5 separate regions of the Homo sapiens genome follow, and all the other regions are linked to region 4. The links are contacts of gene promoters, found by promoter capture Hi-C in human tissues and cell types (Jung and others, 2019). All regions are on one chromosome and are shown on one strand. Each heading gives the region's core, a stretch centred on a gene start or on the middle of the fragment in contact. The rest is flanking DNA. Distances are from core to core; before and after follow the strand shown. Region 1 overlaps SNX3 (sorting nexin 3). Region 2 overlaps OSTM1-AS1 (OSTM1 antisense RNA 1). Region 3 has its middle 21 kb from the start of OSTM1-AS1. Region 4 holds the start of NR2E1 (nuclear receptor subfamily 2 group E member 1). Region 5 overlaps SNX3 (sorting nexin 3).

Region 1 (2,700 bases), core at 101-2,600, 46 kb after region 4:
ACGTCCCCTGGGGGACAAAATCATCCCTGGTTGAGAACCACTGCTTTATTTTAATGTTTAACAGAAAAAAAAATTTTCTTTTGAGACTGGGTCTCTCACTCTTGCCTAGGCTAGAATTAAGTGGCATGATCTTGGCTCACTGCAACCTCAACTTCCTGGGCTCAAGATACACTTCCACCTAGCCACCCAAGTAGCTGGGACTACAGGCACACACCACCATGCCCAGCTAATTTTTAAACTTTTTGTAGAGACATAGTCTCACTATGTTACCCAGGTTGGTCTCAGAACTCCGGGCCTCAAGCAATCCCCCTGCCTTGGCCTCCCAAAGTGCTGGCACTACAGGTGAGAGCCACTGTGCCTTGCCGAGAACCACTGCTTTAAAGAATTATTTGGTTTTGCAGAGCTACCATTATTCTGTTCTGCATACCCAAAACTGACAGCCTCTGACTTTACTTCTCTAGTTCACTGAAATAAAATTTACATGTTGTTTAGCTTTGTACCTTCTTACAGTAATTGAAACATCCAGTATTAGGGAACTGTGAAATACTGTTTGAGCAACAAAAGGCCTTATGGGGCAACTCTGACTTCTTCCTATGACTTCTATGTGCTTGGTGGACATCCTAGTTTGGCCAAGACCCAAGCTTGTTTCCTTTTAAATGGACTGATCCATCTTCAGAGGAGACGCATCTGCTGTAGGAGGACAAAATTTCTTTACTTTGGGATTTAACTCCAAGTCACAATGGGTCCCCAAACCACCGCAAGTTGTACAAACTAGAGACCACATTCTGGCTGAAAGGTCTGAACACAACACAAGTTAGGCAGCAAGAAGTCATGTGTTTTCTGGTATCTTATCATTTTTGCAGGTCAGGCTAGAAGACTGTGCCCTTCTCTTAAAGAGGATAAAGTGTGCTACTATCCCAAACCAAATTAAAGAGAAAGCACAAACCTGCTGACTAAGAAGAGTTATTACACCCTTGCTAAGTTTGTTTAAACAAGTCACTCAGTTGACTAGGAAAAAACTTCTGAAAAATAGGAGAAATGGTATTTTATCTTTGAAAGTCCTTTTAATAAATGAGATTATAAAGCAGTTTTCAAATACACAAAGTGCTTCAAAATGATTCAATAAGCCTTAAGCAATACATTTTTTAGTATATCACTTTTGTTGTTGTTAAAAATACCCCATTCAATGGATGGAAGTATATTTGATATCACCACTGTTTAAAGGGAATGGAGTTACAGGAATGAGAAGTATATAATTAGTAAATAATCCCTCTCAACAAGTGACTTAAGTAGTCACTCATAGAGAGCAAAAAAAGCTGGAGGCAACACAATCAGTGCATATCAGAAATGCATTTTAATTTTTATTTGAAAACAACTTAAATTTTTAGACAAATGATTTTAGTATATAAATTTGCTTTTGTTTTTATACAGAATATAAAGATTTCCCTCATTAATCTTCCATGTGAAGGGTATTACAAGCCTGGAGGAAGATACTTTCTGCACACAAGTATGTATCTTATGTGTGCAGTATTGGAAACCAATGGTGTAGTGCTCCTACACATAAATGGGGTCAAGTGACATCACAAATTAAAAGGGGGAAAGAGAAATATTCTAGTTAATCAGATGCAAGAAGCAAACAAGACGCAAAAACTGTGCAAATAAGACCAAGCCAGTAACTTTAGTTACGACACTGCAGATTACACTGGAATAACAGGTTTGTGAGGCTATAGTGTGCACCACATTAAAACAGCAAGAAAGAGCTATTTATATAGAAAGGCTGGAATGAGGGATTTTTACTAAAGCAAATTAACTTCTTGTCAACTGCCAAAACAAAACAAAACTGAGCATATGAGTGTTAGTATACTGAAGGCATGTTATACCAGTTTCTGTGCAGCATGCTAAAAGTTAGAACTTCTTCACTGGTGCTTATCAATCATTAATAGTCACGTTTTTGCCCCTTCTTGCCAAATTTCAGGCATGTCTTATTTTAGATGGAGTATAGCTTTTATCTATTATTTCATCTTGTAAAAACATGTGAAGACAACGTTCGTTCTGTGCCAGAGGATGACCAGCGACCCTGAGAATAAAAAATATAAATTTAGTCCAATATTTTATACAAGGTGGGGGAGTTCAAAACACATATTTTAAAGTTGAGAAGCATGTATAATTTTTTTTTTTTTGAGATGGAGTCTTGCTCTGTTGCACAGGCTGGAGTGCAGTGGCTGATCTTGGCTCATGGCAACCTCCGTCTCCTGGGTTCAAGTGATTTCGTGCCTCAGCCCCCTGAGTAGCTGGGACTACAGGCGTGTGCCATCATGCCCAGCTAATTTTTATATTTTTACTAGAGACGGGGTTTCACCATGTTGGCCAGGCTAGTCTCAAATCCCTGACCTCAAGTGATCTGCTCACCTCAGCCTCCCAAAGTGCTGGGATTACAGGCGTGAGCCACTGCGCCCGGCTCAGAATCATGTACAGTTTACCAATAAGTATTATTCTGGACTGTCCATAAAGCTATGCACTATCAACTAATGGTATATGTTCTTTTGTTTGGTTCACAACTCTAATTAAGAAAACATTAATCACAAATTTTTCACTGCTTGTGGCACATGTACCCAATTAGCTTTACATCATAGCTGGTGTATTCATAAGAAACTTAAATTAATTTTAATGTTAAAAGTGAAGCATGTCAATTGATCCTAA
Region 2 (2,987 bases), core at 64-2,563, 40 kb before region 4:
CTTTCTCAGCAAATGGGGTCACTCATTTTCATAGTAAACTTTGGTGATTGGGGTGCAGAGAGGTGGAGGGGGGAGTTGATAAGTAGATGGGGGAGTACAAACAAGGTCTGGAGGAATTTCTCAGGGGTGGGGGGAAAACAGTAGCTGTAGAAGAAAGGACTGAGAGCCTCAGAGATCTCTGGCCAATCCCTGGAGAAGTGGATCCCAACATGGCCTGCAGACTAAACCGTGGGCCCTGTGAGAGCTAAGCCACACTCGTGTGTTGCCACCGGATGAAAGGTGGAGGAGGCAGAAACCTAAACAAGTGAATTCAATTACATCTGAAAAAGATTAGGCTAAATTAGGATTCATTCCTTGGGCCAGTTCCAGGAAATATTTGTGAAAAGTTGGTTGAAAGAATACTACCATCTAAACCCTAATTTTGCTATTACGTAAAAGCCCCGATTCCTTTGCAGTAAAACATTAGAAAATGTTTTCCTCATTTTGTTTTTGCTACTGGTGTGTGACCTCTTAATTTAATTTTGGTTTTTGCTCATATAAATCAATGGCCGTGGAAACTTTTTCCTGTGGTGCAGCAAAGACAGGGGAAAAGTAGAACATCAGTAATTATATTTTAGGCACTTAATTTATTTAATGAGCAGTTATCAAGCACCCTTAATGGTTCCAGCCATAAACTATAGGATATCATCCTTTACGTTAGAGGATATCAGCCTGCTTCAGAGAACCTTCATGTGTGTCTCCGAGATGCAGAAAGAAGGAGCGTGTTCTTAGGTGAGACATTAGTGGACTGAGGTTAGAATTCATCAGCCTGATGCCCTGATAATTTCCTGCTGCCTTCTGCCTCTGCTGTGCCCGCAGTTGGAGCCCAATCAGTGATGCCACTGCCCAATTTGCCCAAATAGCCAGCCAGTGGGAATAAAGACCCAAACATCTCATATTTTTAAAATTAATTTTTTACCTTTCTGTCACCTGCCTGAACTGGTAAAGAAAATGTTTCTCAGGTTTCTTCAATTCCTCTTCTCAAGGAGAGCTGTTAACCCTTTGAGGGAACTCACATATCTATGGGATATGTTATACATTTGGAATGTTTTACACTTGGGAACAAAAACTAAATTAGGCAGATAGCTCAGATTTAGAATACAGTACATGCATTTTTTGGTCATGTGCCATTTCATGGTGGATGGAATTCATGGCTGCAGCTTACAGTTATATAGGTTCCACACTGCACTGTGCTGGAGGGAAACATTCACACAGACTATGGGTGGACAGAATTGTGTCTTCTGCTCATGGGGGTAGGAGGTGAGGACGGAGGGGTCACTCCCATCCTTTATTTCAGCAACTTAAGAAAACTGTGATAGATGTTGAAAGTAGTGTACTTATTTGGGATGAAATAACAACTTTTTTTTTTTTTTGAGATGGAGTTTCATTCTTGTTGCCCAGGTTGGACTGCAATGGTACCATATTGGCTCACTACAACCTCTTCCTCCTGGGTTCAACTCAGCCTCCCAAGTAGCTGGGATTGCAGGCACCTGCCATCACGCCTGGCTAATTTTTTGTATTTTTGTTAGGGGCAGGGTTTCACTATGTTGGCCAGGCTGGTCTCAAACTCCTAACCTCAAGTGACCCACCTGCCTTGGCCTCCCAAAGTGCTGGGATTACAGACATGAGCTACCGCACCCTGCCTGAAATAACAATTTTAAAGTTCTAGACTCAGGTAACTTGAGTTCAAACTGCCTCTGCCATATTGCTTAACCTCTCCATTTCTTATCTATAAAATGACAGATAGATAACATTAAATAATAAGAGTAACCACTCATAGGTTTATGAGGATTAAATGAGTTGATATATGTAAAGATCTTAGAATAGTGTCTGGCACATAGTAATTGCTCAGTTAATATTAGCTATTGTTATCATTATTCTTTGATGTGTTGGAAAAGCATTTCCCTCCTATTGTGGGAAGAAATAGGAAAACAAAGTTCCCACTGTTCTGTTTGACTATAGGCCCTGCATGGCTAGGCAGGAAGAGGAAAGGCACTCAAGTAGGACAGAACTGGGTTTATTTCTGTTGTAACCACCTATTGTGATCTTGGCCACATCCTCTACAAGCTGCAATTTCTTCAAATGCAGATTGAGAATAGTAATAGTATCTACCTTGCAAAGTTGTTATGAGAATTAACGACAAAATATGGAAAGTGCCCAACACAGTGCCTGACCCTTCATAGGCTCTCAAAAATATTTGTTACTGTCAGATTGAAGTTAAACCAAGACATGGCATTTGGATACTGTTAGAAAAAAAAAAAAAAAAAAAGCAGGATCACTGAGAATATTCTAGCCTCAGTGACAAAAGAAGAAAAAACAAGCTTTCCAACTCCCAGCCAGGAACAGTGATCTGAAAATCTTGATGTGGGGTTTGTGTTCAGTCCCCAGCCCTTTTTTGGACTGCCAGACCCTCGTGTTTGTCCTGCTTTCCCCACTTCTTTCTAGTCCTGGTCAGAAGTGATGTTGGAAGGGACTGAGAAAACCCATGAGGGAGAGGTGAAGCATCTCCCCAGTGCCTTTTTAATGTATGAGGGTGCTTCAATTACCAGATTGTCAGCTCCATGAGGGCAGGGACCATGTTTGTTCCTGTTCAACAACATACTCCTTGGTAAATATTTGTTGAATAAGTTAAAAAAGTAGAATACATTATTAATGACTGTATTGTATAGTAGCAGCTTGACTGTATTGTATAGTAGCAGCTCAGTTAAACCTGAACTCAATGAACTGAACGCTCAATTTACTTTTTTTTTTTCTACATCTCACTTTGTGAAAGAAAGTGCTAACAGGACAAGCTCATATGAGGAATTTAGTATCAAGAAAACTAATCACAGTTTTTCAAAGTATGATCTGGGATTTGTACAGATTCAGCCCAATTTCCTAAACCTTGTGCATGGAGCTCATTAGCACTGCAGAAATCATTCAACAAACATTTATAGAGCAAGTCCTAT
Region 3 (2,915 bases), core at 35-2,534, 64 kb before region 4:
TGTCTTTATAAAATGGTGATAGTTGGATTCAGGGATAGATAGAGGAAAGACAAGGTAAGGAGACACAGGAGAGAAGGTGGCCATGCACAAGCCAAGGAGACAAGCCTGGAACAGATACTTCCCTCACAGCCTGCAGAAGAAACCAGCCCTGCTGACACCTTGATCTCAGGCTTCTACCCCCAGAACTGTAAGACAACACATTTGCTGTGTAAACCCCCTGCAGTCTGTGCTACTTTGTTATGGCACCCTAGCACGCTAACACAAATACATTTTAGGCACTTTCTGGAAGAAGGATACAAGTGGAAGCCCAGTTCTCTTTGTTTGTACACTGGATTTCTGAATAAGATTTCTTTATATAAAGAGCTCCAAACTAATGTTTGAAAAACATTGTTGTTCAAAAATGATTTTGAAGTAATTAATTTTGAATTATTTCTAATGAACAGGTCCAATTGCTTCTTGAGGCCAGGGCATTCCCCACCCGCCCCCACACCCTTTTTTTTTTTTTTTTTTTTTAAAGAGACAGGGTCTTTGTTGCCCAGGCTGGAGTGCAGTAGCACTATCTAGCTCATTGCAGCCTTGAACTCCTGGCTTCAAGTGACCCTCCTACCTCAGCTTCCTGAGTAGCTGAGAAACTAGGACTACAGGCACGTGTCACCATGCCAGGCTAATTTTTTTTTTTTCTAATTTTGTTTCTTTGTAGAGATAGGGTTTGCTATGTTGCCCAGACTGATCTCAAACTCATAGCCTAAGTGATCCTCCCACCTTGGCCTCCCAAAGTGCTGAGATTAGTGGCGTGAGACATTGCACACAGCCTGAAGCCATTCCTTGATAGTAAATTTCTGTCATTGTCTCAACCTAGATGCTTCCAAAAAACAGAGCTTGAACTAAAGACTTGTGCTCAGGCAGTTTATTTAGGAGGTGATTCCAGGGAGTTTCAGGTGCTTCTCCAGTGCTATGCATTCATTATTCTCCTTTTGAATAAACCATTGCCATCTGTGATGTATTGTTTTTGCTCAATGTTTTTCTTCTTAGATATTAAACAGTTAGATTTCAAAACAGCATGTATCTAAAGAGTTAAAATTCCACACTAATAAAATTCTGAGAGGAAGCCAAACTAATTTGCAATATATACCATACATATGCTCAAAATTATTCTGGTCTATAAAGCAGATTGTATCAGTTAGGGTTCTCTGGAGAAACAGAACCAATCGGATATATACTGTATATATTAGATGATCTCTTTATGGAATAAATAAAGGCATTGCCTCACACAATTGTGGCAGCTGGCTAGTCTGAAATTTGTGGGGCAGGCCAGCAGGCCGGAAACTCAGGCAGGAGTTGATGTTGCAGTCTTGAGGCAGAATTTCTTCTCAAGAAACCTGTTTTTGCTCTTAAGTCCTTCACTGATTAGATGAGGACCCCCTACCTATTGAGAGTCATCTCTCTGATGTAAAGTCAACTGATTGTACATGTGAACCACATCTACAAAATACCTTCATGGCAATATCTAGATTACTGTTTGATTAAATACCTGGGTACTGCTATATCTTAGCCAAGTTAATACTTAAAGCTGGCCATCACGCTGGTCAAGAACTAAAAACCTAGAGGCATTCATCTCCTTCCTTGTGTCACTCTGGGAAAGTCCAAAAATCTTCTGGTTCAGTTTCTTGTAAGGGGTAGCCACAGTGACACCATCATTTTAACCCAACTAAGTAGCATCATAGAAGAAAAGAATAAGGAGATAGTGAAACAAGTGTATTCTTGTAGGGAAAAAATGCTACCTTAGATAGAAATAATGTTTGCGACTATGATAGAACAATTTCTTCCTGCATCATCCCTGAACAATCCCAATAATGTGTGAAAATACAGCCAAATAATCTTTAGGCCTACAGGTTATCAGCTCTTCAAATACTGGTCCATCCTCTTTGTTTACGAGCAAGAGACAAAGAGCAATTAAGCAATATGTAAGTGGCAGACCCAAAAATAGAACCCAGCTGTCCTCAGCCCTAGAATGCTGTTCATAACACCAAGCTACCTCTGTGGACAATAAAGATGAATATCAGTCGCTAGAGAATGGGTTTCTCTACTTAATGTTCATAATTCCATTTACCCATGAAATGACCATGTGAAGCTTATTTTGTAAAGTAGATATTAGAGAATATTAGAGAACATTTGCTAATTTTGTCAGGTGTGATAAGGCATTGAGGCTGTGTAGACAAATTGTTCTTAACTTTTAGGGATGTATACAGCATGTATTTTCTTCAAAATACTTTAGCAAAAAAAAAATTAAGCAAATGAGGCAAAATACTAACAATTGTTACACATAAGTGATTGATATATGGGTGTTTATCATATTATGTCCTTACTCTTTGTAATGTTTTAAATTTTTCATAATAAAAAGAAAAAAAGAAACAAGTTCACTTTCTCTCTGTTCGTAGGCTTGTAGGCAGCTAATGCCTACATATATCCAAATATATCCATTTTCATACATCCAACATGCACTTTCCTTGCATGGTCACTGAGTCAATAAACTTATACCACAGGCCTGTGCACACTCACTTTTCTAGACTAGGAAATTTTTTTTTTTTTTTTTTGAGACAGAGTTTCTCTCTTGTCACCCAGGCTGGAGTGCAATGGCGCGATCTCGGCTCACTGCAACCTCCGCCTCTTGGGTTCAAGCAATTCTCCTGCCTCAGCCTCCTGAGGAGCTGAGATTACAGGCACCCGCCACCACGACCAGCTAATTTTTGTATTTTTAGTAGAGACAGGGTTTCACCATGTTGGCCAGGCTGGTCTCGAACTCCTGACCTCAGGTGATCCATCTGCTTTGGCCTCCTAAAGTGCTGGGATTGCAGGCATGAGCCACCGCACCTGGCTAGACTAGGAAATCTAATTTCATGGCAGGGGATCCCAAA
Region 4 (2,965 bases), core at 86-2,585:
CGGGACCCCAGCCTTGGTCGCGGCGCCCCACTAAGGAGGACACAGGCTCTGGTGTGTGTGGTGTGCGAGACCCCGAGCTCGAGGCCGAGCCAAGGCTGGGCAGAAAGTTGCAATCACGTGCTGTCGGAGCCCACTGGAGCGCACAGCCCGCTCCCCCTGGGACGCCCAGGCGGAGGACCTGCTGCGCCCTCCCAGGGCTCGGGGGACTCCAGCATTCACTTGCACGCACAGGCGAACTCTGATTGAAAGCCCGGGATGACACCGAGTCTGGAGAAAGAGGGACCGGGGGGTGGGCTGGCGGAATTGCAGAGCGCCGGCCACAGCTCCCCTCCCCGCGAACGTCGAGCGGAGGGCGGGAGGTGTAACCTCTGACCTCTGGCCGGGTCCACGCCCTGAGGAGGGACTGGCAAGCTCTTGTTCGACAAGTTCAAGCTGCCGAGAGAGCTTAAATAGAATTAATCTCTTAGAGATCGGGGATCATCGCTCCCTCGGCATGCGCTCTCCCAGCGCCGCGCACAGAGCAAGGCGCGAGAGAGCTCAGGAATCGCGGGAAGGCAAGCGGAATGGGGAGGGGGTAGGGGATGAGGGCCTCTCTTCACTATTCCTCCGCCCGGAGAGCGGGAGCCCGCAACGCCCGCCGAGGACGAGCGGCGGGAGGGAACGCTCTGCCCTCCAGCCGCCCCGGTGCAGATAATGGAGGCGACAAGAGATTCGCTCAGCGTCGGATGGGCCAGCTCTGCTTGGGGAAGCTGGCGGCATCCTCCCCTCGGCTGGTGCCCAAACCCACTGCGCGAAGGCCGAAGGAACGCGGAACCTCCAGAAGACCCCATCCTCAGCCCTGACTTTCCGTAGATATGTGCAAAATGAGTAAATTACTCACCTCGGGCCAGATCCAAGTTTTACCCAACAGAAGGGGCACCGGACCAAGAATGAACCAACTCACATGGCCATGTCCGGCGCGCACAATCACACGCCAGCACACAGCCACCCAATTTCTTCCGCGAATCTATCTGGCACTCTGGAGAGAGGGGGAAAAGCGTTTTGAGAAAGCCCCGTCACCCCTCCCCTTCCTTCTTGCCGTGAAATATACGAATTCATTTTTATTACGAGCCGCACCGTCCTCACCATCACGCACGCACAGAGCCACACTCCCATATTCACACTTTCTAACTCGTAAGCTCCGACAGCGCCTGCATTTTCTTTGGGAGCCGCTTGGAGGTTCATTAATATCATTAGCATTTAACCCCCTCCCTCTTCCCATCCCCTCCCCGCACATGGCTGACGTCAGACCCCGCCAGGAGTTGGGGGAAAAGCTAAGTGGGCCAGGGACGCCCTATTCCCCTCCCCGCGGCTGCCTGTCAGAGCGCTTCTGGAGATATTACAGGGGACCCAGCCCGCAGCGACAGGCACAAAGTCACGGGGTAATGAACTTCGGGGACCCTTCGCCGCTGCGTGCGCGGCTCTCCCCGGAAACCCGGACCTGGCCGCCTCTTCCCTCGGAAGATTTCCCAGCAATCTAGTTTTCCCACTCTGCGCTTGGGTTCCGGCAGCGCGGAGCCCGTCTGCCTCTGAGACTGCGGTAGTGTTTTCCTTCTTTCCTTGGGAGACCAGCGGTCGGCAGAGATTGCCCACACTCTGCATGCCTATGTAGAGGGAGAGATCGAAGACTGAGTGACAGGAATGGGGAAAAAGAGGGATTTCGCTCCGTAGGAAGGCCATTTTCGTGTCTCCATCTCTGTCTTTCAACATCCCTCTCTTGCTGTTCTTCCTTCTTCCTCAGTCTTCCTGTCCATCTCTCCATCTGTCTGTCCATGTGTGTGTCCATATCAAGCAGCATTCCCAGCAGCTGCGGTTTTGCAAGAGCCGGGAAGAAACTTAAGGATGCTTAAATTTCCACTGTTGGACGAATTCTGAGCGCCCAGGGAGCAGCGCAGCGCGCGACTGACACCCACCTGTCCCGCCCAGGAGCCTTGCAGGCTGGAGGGCAGCTGGAGAGCGGCGGCGCCCGGCGGCGAGGCGGGCGCTGCCGGCCGGGACTCGGGCAGCGCCCACCAACCGCTCCGCCCCGGGACAGCCAGCATGAGCAAGCCAGCCGGATCAACAAGTGGGTACCTCTCGGGCCGCCGTGGGGCCTAGGCGCGCAGCCTGGGGCGAGCGAGCGGGGAGGCTGGGGGAGGTCCTGCCTGGAGCGCTGCGAATCTGAGCCCCTGAGAGGGATTCCAGCGGGCGTGTGCGTTCGGCCCAGACCTGTAGACCGTGAGTTGGAGCATTTCGTGGAGAGGGGAGAGCCGTTTCGTTGCCTCTGGATTGCTTGATCCCCCCTGTCTGGTGCGGTGAGAAGGTTACGACCCGCGCAGCCCACCAGTCGGATGAGTTGTCTCCATTTAGCCGCCAGGTGCTGGATGGGGGGGCCATGGGGGCGGGAACTGGGCCGCAGCTCCAGGCGGTAGCACAATAACACACTCGCTCAAAACTCCGAGCTCCAGCGCGCAAAAGCAACTCTGTGCAAAGCGGATTTTGAATGGAATGCTTTGCACCCCGTTTCTAGCTATTTCAAATAATCCTGCAAACTGGGAAGCAGAAACAATTTAAAAGTCACATTTTCCTTAATCCTAAATCCGCGTAGGTCATAACTGGGGAATTTAAAGTATGGCGAACCACTCTAGCAAAGAGAGGACCAAATCCCTAATCCCAAGGACTTTTCGAGCCGGAGCCCAGCAGAGGCAGGAGTGCGCGGCCTGCTCCCTCCGTGCGCTTCTCTCCTTCCTCGAACTTCCTTAGCTGCCGGCTCTCCGAACGCCAGGCCGCAGCTGACCTCTCACCACCCCGAGACTCACGAGCGCAGGGCTAAGTGTGTGTGCGAGGGCATTTGCTTGCACCCTGCCTGCGGAACCCAAGAATGTGCAGGCCCGAGCCAGCGTTGAGCAGGCGCGGTCACGGTGCTCAGATCTCCCGGGGGCATTTC
Region 5 (2,837 bases), core at 24-2,523, 62 kb after region 4:
TCAAGCTTATATTTAAAGATGCTGGCTTGTTGTACAGAGGGTATTCTCATTCCCCACAGGGAATAAAATTAGGTCCCCTGGAGAGTAGAATAATTCCCAGAAAGAAAGCACTGGATTATTTCTCTCTAATTTCACCTATTGGCTTTTTAACCAAGTTCACCCTTCCGCATTAAAATATTAAGTCTTTGTAAATGCCTTAAAGATAAAAAGGCCTTTACAGAGTTGAGTGTTTTCTGCAGGTGAGATTTTACATTCTGAATTCCCTCCTCTCAAATTACTTTACAAAGGGGATTAACTGCTCTCTTTATTCAAATACGTTAAGATCAAGCTTGCGAAAAGAGTCCCCTAAGAATTTTCATACTTCTGGGTACGGAAGTCTATAAAGTTAATCTCTGAAACAACATATCAAGCTTACAGGTACAATGTTGAGAGAAGAGTGCCAATTCAGCTCATTTTACCTTCCATTTTCCCTTTTGAACTTTTGACACAATCATGATTATATCTGATTCACTCTAACAGAAAGGGGAGGGGTGAGGGGGAAAAGTACTTTCCCTTCTATGATTAGCTAATAGTTTGATAGTTTATATACTTAAATTTAGAGGACCATGATTAGCTTAAGAAAGTTCCTTTAGTTTTCTTAACTGGTTATGATTTCTCTTTTTGCATGAGGACTGCTTTAGAGTTTAAAGTCACATCAAGAAATTCAAACATCACTTGCCCATTACATATGCAGTGGTTAACTTAGCCTGTTAAACGTCTTCCTCATCATTACAAGGATTTGTAATTCAATGTAACTGATTAAAATAACTAAGTGCAAAATGTGGGTTTTTTTTTTTTGTTGTTGTTGTTGTTTAAGGTACTGAACTATCACTGCTGAAACTCCTGTGATTGGTCACTTTCAATTTATTTAACTTTCATAAAATGATTGAAGGGCGGAGAGGTTTTTTACCTACAGCTTCAGGAGGACTAAACTATTATTTACTGATCATCTATAAAAGGGCACCATGCTAGATAAGGGAGAATCATTATTTATAATGATGAATAAGATGCAGACCTGGCCCTTATGAAACATACACCAATCAAGGTTAGAAAATAAGCATATAAAAAGTTGAATTTCCATGGTTAAAAATACTACAAACTGGCTGGGCATGATGGCTCAAGCCTGTAATCCCTGTACTTTGGAAGGCTGAGGTGGGAGGATCACAGGAGTTTGAGACCAGGCTGGGCAACATGGTGAGACCCCCATCTCTACAAAAAATAAAAAATTAGCTGGGCAGGCTGGGCGTGGTGGCTCATGCCTGTAATCCCAGCACTTTGGGAGGCCAAGGCGGGTGGATCATCTGAGGTCAGGAGTTCGCGACCAGCCTGGACAACATGGTGAAACCCTGTCTCTACTAAAAACACAAAAATTAGCCAGGCATGGTGGCGGGTACCTGTAATCCCAGCTACTCGGGATGCTGAGGCAGAACTGCTTGAACCCGGGAAGCGGAGACTGCAGTGAACCAAGATTGCGCCACTGCACTCCAGCCTGGGCAACAAGAGCGAAACTCTGTTTAAAAAAAAAAAAATTAGCTGGGTATGGTGGCACATGCCTGTAGTGGGAAGATAAGGTGTCAGGATGGCTTCAGCCTTCGAGGCTGAGGCTGCATGAGCTGTGATCACATCACTCACTGTATTTCAGCCTGGGTGACAGAGGGAGACGGTCTCAAAAAAAAGGGGGGCATTTTGGTGAATACATTATCCATTACTCTATTAAATACACATAACTTTTGAATGAACAATTTCAATGGGAATTAATCCTACAAATATTTCCACACATACAAAAATATTTTAGCATTGTAATAGACACAAAAAAAAACCCCAAAAAAGACCAGAAACAATAAATCTTACATTACAAGCTTATATTACACAGCTTTTTACAAAATATAACTCAGCCATAGGTTAATCAGAAAAGCTGTCTAGAATGTATGACATGTAAAAAGTTTCAGGCTGGGTGCGGTGGCTTATGCCTATAATCCCAGCACTTTGGGAGGCTGAGGCGGGTGGATCACTTGAGGTCAGGAGTTCAAGACCAGCCTGGCCAATACAGTGAAACCCCATCTCTACTAAAAATACAAACATTAGCCGGGTGAGGTGGCACGAGCCTGTAATTCCTGCTACTCCGGAGGCTATGGCAGGATAATCGCTTGAACCCGGGAGGCGGAGGTTGCAGTGAGGTGAGATCATGCCACTGCACTCCAGCCTGGGCGACAGAGCGAGACTCCACCTCAAAAAAAAAAAAAAAAAAAAAGTTTCAGAACAGTATATTATATAGCATAATACCATTTGTATAATATGAAAAGCACGGAAGAATTGACAATTGATTTGGCCCGGATTCATTCATTCTTTCCCCTCCTTTTCTTTCCTTTCCTCAGTCTCTCTGCTTCCCCTCCCTCTCCCCCTCCCTCCCTCCCCTTCCTTCCTTTAGAGACAGGGTCTCCCTAAGTTGCTCAGGCTGGTCTTGAACTCCTGGGCTCAAGGGATCCTTCCACCTCAGCCTCCCAAAGTGCTGGAATATGAGGTGTGAGCCACTGCGTACGGCCAGTCAGGACTCTTTTTCGTTTTGTTTGTTTTTGAGACAGAGTTTCGCTCTTGTCGCCCATGCTAGGGTAAAATGGCGCGAGTGCAATGGCCTCAGCCAGGACTCTTTTAACACAGAGCTAGCCATACTATAAGACAGCTGAAAATGGTGAAAATAGTGTGAGCTAAATGCAGAGAAGAAACAAGTACAGTGTATATTTAGTATATAATTCTTGAATATTCTAAAGCATAGGGAATGATGGGAAATAAAACTGAAA

Evidence for each region. The method cuts DNA at HindIII sites, captures the fragments that hold promoters and counts their contacts. A contact is called where the count stands out against the background at its distance.
Region 1: a fragment that was not itself captured here is called in contact with the fragment with the promoter of NR2E1 in region 4 in 1 of the 25 tissues and cell types used here (H1 embryonic stem cells).
Region 2: a contact is called between a fragment that was not itself captured here and the fragment with the promoter of NR2E1 in region 4, in 4 of the 25 tissues and cell types used here (H1 embryonic stem cells, aorta, mesendoderm cells and 1 more).
Region 3: a fragment that was not itself captured here is called in contact with the fragment with the promoter of NR2E1 in region 4 in 1 of the 25 tissues and cell types used here (thymus).
Region 5: a contact is called between a fragment that was not itself captured here and the fragment with the promoter of NR2E1 in region 4, in 1 of the 25 tissues and cell types used here (pancreas).

What each region holds. Positions count from the first base shown.
Region 1 is chr6:108,210,178-108,212,877 of GRCh38, forward strand. It overlaps SNX3 (sorting nexin 3), which reads right to left. Exons shown (of 4, transcript NM_003795.6): 4 at 1,045-2,077. The coding sequence ends at 1,972. Among named protein-coding and RNA genes, the nearest start is that of NR2E1, 46 kb to the left of the region's middle. The HindIII fragment of the contact is 7,794 bases long and covers 1-2,700 here.
Region 2 is chr6:108,124,464-108,127,450 of GRCh38, forward strand. The region is part of intron 1 of OSTM1-AS1 (OSTM1 antisense RNA 1); the gene reads left to right. All of the region lies in intron 1 of LOC124901368 (a long non-coding RNA gene), which reads right to left. Among named protein-coding and RNA genes, the nearest start is that of OSTM1-AS1, 2.3 kb to the left of the region's middle. The HindIII fragment of the contact is 7,245 bases long and covers 1-2,987 here.
Region 3 is chr6:108,101,186-108,104,100 of GRCh38, forward strand. No RefSeq gene overlaps it. Among named protein-coding and RNA genes, the nearest start is that of OSTM1-AS1, 21 kb to the right of the region's middle. The HindIII fragment of the contact is 3,481 bases long and covers 1-2,915 here.
Region 4 is chr6:108,164,687-108,167,651 of GRCh38, forward strand. It overlaps NR2E1 (nuclear receptor subfamily 2 group E member 1), which reads left to right and starts at 1,336. Exons shown (of 9, transcript NM_003269.5): 1 at 1,336-2,104. The coding sequence starts at 2,080. RefSeq lists enhancers at 379-1,280, 2,181-2,965. The HindIII fragment of the contact is 11,535 bases long and covers 1-2,965 here.
Region 5 is chr6:108,226,991-108,229,827 of GRCh38, forward strand. All of the region lies in intron 1 of SNX3 (sorting nexin 3), which reads right to left. Among named protein-coding and RNA genes, the nearest start is that of SNX3, 33 kb to the right of the region's middle. The HindIII fragment of the contact is 3,127 bases long and covers 1-2,837 here.